Linked DNA regions of Homo sapiens: region 1 is linked to region 2. The links are contacts of gene promoters, found by promoter capture Hi-C in human tissues and cell types (Jung and others, 2019). All regions are on one chromosome and are shown on one strand. The core of a region is centred on a gene start or on the middle of the fragment in contact, and the rest is flanking DNA. Distances in the headings are between cores, read along the strand shown. Region 1 overlaps EVA1C (eva-1 homolog C). Region 2 holds the start of TMEM50B (transmembrane protein 50B).

Region 1 (2,700 bases), core at 126-2,625, 1.0 Mb after region 2:
TGCTCTTGGACTTCCTGACCTTCAGAACAGTGAGAAATCAATCTCAGGTCCTTATGAATTACCCAGGCTCAGGTACACTGTTATAGCAGCACAAAAAGGACTAAGACAGTGGAGCACACAGGGAAAGCAACTTCTTGTCTCCTGAAGAAACATGTTGTCTCTCCTCAAGGTATAGAAACCATGTCATGGGGAGTCATTCAGACACATTCATTTTGGCTACTCAATTGGTGTGTTTCACCAATCACCTAAATACCCAGATACTACCATGCTTGGAGTGGAAGCAAGGGATGGTGTGAGAAATAGAAAAATTCTTACATCATCACATTAGTTTGCGTCTCCTGTTTGGGCCTTAGGGAGAGCTACACAGCATTAAAGCTACTCTTATTTCTCCTTAGTTCTAGCAAATGTATCTTTATCCATATTTCCTACGGTCGACAAAATCAAACAGACTTCCAACTTTCCACCTGCTCTAAACTCCCTGCTTTAAATGTATTCATATGGAACTTGGGAGGCATAAAAAAAAAAATCCAAGGCCAAGTGACTCAGTAATCCTGGTCAACTAGTTATATATGTTAGGGGCCAGGGATGGTGAAGTAGAAGTTGCTCAGATGATTGAAAGCCATGCACAGTCTAAAACCATCATTGAAATATTAGTTTGACCTTCTCCTATACCAAATCTTTCCCTAAATATGCCAACCACAAAAAGAATGACTTAAACCACACCTCTCCCAATTCCTGGTACTATGTAGTAGAAGGAAGGAGTCAGTAAAGGCTGCCTAAAATAGCTCCAAGCAAGAATGACATGATTATCTACAACTGAAGAAGCAAATCATTAAAAAGCACAAGGCAGTTACTGATATTACTGATATTTCCTTCCTTGAATACATTTTCTTTTTTTTGAGATGGAGTCTCGCTCTGTTGCCCAGGCTAGAGTGCAGTGGCATGATCTCAGCTTACTGCAACCTCCGCCTCCTGGGTTCAAGCGATTCTTCTGCCTCAGCCTCCCAAGTAGCTGGGACTACAGGTGCGTGCCACCATGCCCGGCTAATTTTTGTATTATTAGTAGAGATGGGGTTTCACCATATTGGCCAGGCTGGTCTTGAACTCCTGACCTCATGATCCACCCACCTCGGCCTCCCAAAGTGCTGGGATTACAGGCATGAGCCACCGCGCCCAGCCCTTTGAGTACATTTTCTAAAAAGTTGGTCATGACTTCAGATGTCTGCCTCAAAGAGATACTTGTGGTTTCCATTAAAGAACCTACCTTCCCTTTCTACAGGAGTATTTATGGGAGATGTGGGCCTGGAGGTTGGAATCCATCCTGGTTGTACTTTGCTATACTAAAGTAAGGAGTAAACCTACAAATAAATTCATATTGAAGTGTACAAAGGGGGCTCTACAATAGGTAGGAATTCTATTTAGTTTTGTTGGGCAACAAATCCTTTGAGAAGCAAATAATAGCTCACCTACAAAACTGGTGATCTGTATAAATTGGGATTTTTCATGGATCAGTTTTGCTTGGATTGAACTATATAATCACAAATATATTTATACCCAGAGAGAGAGAAAGAGTGTGTGTTGAAACTGTATCATCTTAACATGTCTACAAAAGGCAATACCTGGAAGGTGGTGGCTGCCACACAGGTTAAGCTGTCTTCCCTCTGGGAGGCAGGCTTCTGGGAACTACACATTTGGTAATCTTGCCCATAAAATGCCGATTGGACACTTATCGTAGAATGCCGAGGGCACTGTAGATTCAAATAGTCCCCATCACAGGCATAGGTGGTGTGGTTTTGCAGGAGTTTGGTTAGGTAACCTGGAAAATATTCAGTCGAGTTACTAGAGGCCCAGGAACCCACCACTCCTCCATGGGTTTGGGGACAGGAGGACGTTGGTTCCCCTGGGGAAGGGCTGTTCAATCAACAACATGTGGGATGGGGCCTCCCTAGCAGCTCTGGTGCAGAGGTCACCAAACCAGGCCCAGAGGTGGGGCACAGGAGCCAATGTCAGCTTTCATGTTGACATGGAAGGGGGGCAGGGGAGTGCTGGGTAGAGAAGGGTGGGGTCCCTGGCGAGGGCTCCACCCATGGGCTTGTGCCCATGGACCTTAGTGAGAACAGGCACTCCTGTTTTCATGTCCAAATGTTGCATTTTCCAAGACTACTCTGGCCTGCCATGACCCCCATCCTGTGCCCATAAAAAACCCAAGACCCTAGTGGGCACACACACAAGTGGCTGGACGTCGAGAGGAGCAGAGAAGCAGAAGAGCACACTGACAGACACCAGCAGATGCTGGCGGGCTTTCGACAGCGGGGCGATGTGGAAATCAGTCGGGGGCGGTCGGAGGAGAGTCTGGCTGCTGGGCAGCCCAACTCTAGGGGAAGACCACCTTCCCACTCCATCCCCCTTCTGGCTCCCCATCCGAGAGCCACCTCCTCCACTCAATAAAACCTTGCACTCCTTCTCCAAGTCCATGCGAAATCTGATTTTCCGAGTACACTAGGGCAAGAACCTGGGATACAGAAAGCCATCTGTCTTTGTGATAAGGCAGAGGGTCTAATTGAGCTGATTAACACAAGCCGCCTGCAGATGGCAAAACTGAAGGAGACCACTGTAACACATGCCCACTGGGGCTTCGGGAGCTGTAAACACCCAATTCTACAAGCTGCTGTGGGGTCGGAGCCCAAAAACGCTCCCCAC
Region 2 (2,700 bases), core at 44-2,543:
AAATTATTCAGCACATATTTATTGAACACCTAGATCCTAGCCCATGTATAAGAGCTATAGGAGAACATTATCCAGGATGGCATTTTTGGTGATAATTCCATGATACAAAACCTTTTACTTCATTATGCCTCAAGTAAAATGCTTTTTAGATTTCCACTGATAATAACTCTACTTGGCTGGGCACAGTGGCCCACGCTTGTAATCCCAGCATTTTGGGAGGCAGAGGCGGGTGGATCACCTGAGGTCAGGAGTTCAGGATCAGCCAGGTGAAATCCCGTCTCTACTAAAAATACACAAATTAGCCAAGCATGGTGGTGCGCACCTGTAATCCCAGCTACTCGGAAGGCTGAGGTGGGAGGATTGATTGAGCGTGGGAGGTAAGAGGCTGCAGTGAGCCAAGATCACACCACTGCACTCCACCCTGGACAACAGAGCAAGACCCTGTCTCAAAACAAACAAACAAACCACCCAAAAAACAAAGCTCGACTTTCCCCCAAACAACTAAATGGTTATAGGCATTTCTGTAGGAAATTTAGACGGGGCTTCCAAACGCTGTTAAAGTTATGTTGAAAATCCAAGAGGCTGAAAGATATCTGACTATAAGAAAGACGAAAAAAAAAAAAAAAGACAAAAATCTACGTGAATAGACGGGAGAGCGCCGAGCGAAATCAGAAGACTAGTTGTATTGTGAGGATCACCTCGGGTAACCAGCACTCGCTGGGTAGCCCTGGTTTACTAACTTCAACTTTCTGGGGCTCCATTTCTGAATTGAGGGGATTAGAAAAAGGCATCTCTAAAGACCCTCCGTTCCCGAGAACCCTCCCGGAGCACCTTCCCTACTCTGGGCAGCTCGCAGACAGACAAGACTGATCGGCCATAGGCGAAGGGAAACCCTGGTCCCCCGGGTCTCGAGCTCCGTCCGCACGTAATCTCACGGTACTGCACTTCAAGTCAGCGTGCAGAAACGCAGCAGTGGGAGCCCGGCGGCGGCCGCCCACCGGCAGGGGACAGGAGAGGCCCGTCCCGCTCTGCCCGGAACCGTAGATAGCTGGGTCTGAACTCCGGCTCCGGGAGGCCTGCAGAGCAGCCCACCCCGTCCCTCGGAGCTCGCCCTGCCCCCGGCCGGCCACTTGCTGCACGCCGATTGGTCGCGAGGAGCGCCCGGCGTCCCGCTGCGCCCAGCCAACGCCCTCTCCCCGCCCCCTCGCGTCCCGCCCCGCCCCCGGCCGGCCACTTGCTGCGCTCCGATTGGTCGCTGCGGTGCACACGGCGCCTCGCCCCGCCTCACCGGCGCTCTATCCTCGCGTCTGCTCCCAGCTCCGGGCTCCCGGGGCTGAGGTGGAGCCGCGGGACGCCGGCAGGGTTGTGGCGCAGCAGTCTCCTTCCTGCGCGCGCGCCTGAAGTCGGCGTGGGCGTTTGAGGAAGCTGGGTGAGTCCTGTCTGTGGGTCTCCGGCGCCAGGCAACCGTAGAGGGCTCGCGCCCGCCGCCCGCGCGTAAGGAGGCTCCCTCGTCGGGCCCTGTCCGGCCCGGCCTTCTGGGGGCTGTGGGGCCGTCCAGCCGGGTTTTCCCTGCGTTCGGCGCCGGCCTGCAGACTCGGGCCCGCGGAGCCCCCGCCGCCCCTTCTTGCCCCTGCCCGCGTCCCTTCGGGCCGACCGTGACCGTGGCGCCGCCGCGACCCGCAAGCAGCCCGGGGAGGCTGCCCTGCCGCGCTGTCACGCCGTCAGGTTGCGTTCCTGGGGAGGGCTGGAGAGGCTCCATCTCGTGCCTTTCACCTTCTCGCGCGGCGGGCACGGAGGCGACGGTTTTCGGGACGCCCTGCTGCGGCCGCGACGCCCTCCCGAGGCCGGAGCGAGGGCCCCGGGGCGGCTCCAGCCCTTCTTCGCCCCTCCCGTTTGCCCCGAACCATTGCTAGGAGCCTGTGTTTTCTGCACTTTTCTGATTTCATTCTTACGAGAGTCAAGTACAGAGGCGGGAGGGGAAAGGGAAGGGGAACAACATTCTTTCGAGAATTATAAACCTTGAGCTCCGTTAAATAAGTAGCAGCAGAGCATTGTCACTGGAGCAGTGGTAGTCGCGGGTAGGACCGTTTCGGTTTTTAGCCAATAGGCTGGTTAAAGGTACTTAAAACAGTAAGTTGGAAGGTGCTGAAATTCTAAGGTAAATACGTGACCTTTCAAAACCAAAGCAGTGAGACGGGCTAGGCTGGGCTGCTCCCCGCTGCGCGTGCCTGGGTCGGGGGGTGCGGAGGGGCAGGGGGCGGAGGCCTCGGACGGGACGGGGTGGGAGGGAAGTGGCATCCGCATCGTCTTACATCGCGCTGTAAGACCCGATTTTCTCTTTTCGGAGGATCCCATCTCCCTTCTCAGACTCTTCATCCTACCTGCACTGTGGATCCCTTGACACTTCAGAGGCTCTGAACTCTCAGGCCGGTCACACTTTTTCATCATTTTGTTTCTTGTCTTTTAAACCTGCATGCATTTCAAACGTAGAGCAAACATTAAACTTTTTTTTTAAACTGAAGATAGTGGTGCAAGACTTTGTTATTGAAATGCAAACCAAAAGTTATCTTGAATATTTATCGCGCTGGAAAAGCAGGTTTAATTAGAGTGAGGTGGGGACGTATATTTCTTCTTCCGGAGACACAGCCTTCCCACTCACCACCCCAATCCCTCCTCTCTGTCAACTAGGGTTACAGCAGC

The links. Contacts are between HindIII fragments. The study calls those that stand out against the background at their distance.
Region 1: a fragment that was not itself captured here is called in contact with the fragment with the promoter of TMEM50B in region 2 in 1 of the 25 tissues and cell types used here (heart left ventricle).

Annotation. Positions count from the first base shown.
Region 1 is chr21:32,452,428-32,455,127 of GRCh38, reverse strand. It overlaps EVA1C (eva-1 homolog C), which reads right to left. Exons shown (of 8, transcript NM_058187.5): 2 at 1,620-1,816. It also overlaps the pseudogene LOC101928078. Among named protein-coding and RNA genes, the nearest start is that of EVA1C, 41 kb to the right of the region's middle. The HindIII fragment of the contact is 7,901 bases long and covers 1-2,700 here.
Region 2 is chr21:33,478,567-33,481,266 of GRCh38, reverse strand. TMEM50B (transmembrane protein 50B) reads left to right here and starts at 1,293. Exons shown (of 7, transcript NM_006134.7): 1 at 1,293-1,429. The HindIII fragment of the contact is 12,756 bases long and covers 1-2,700 here.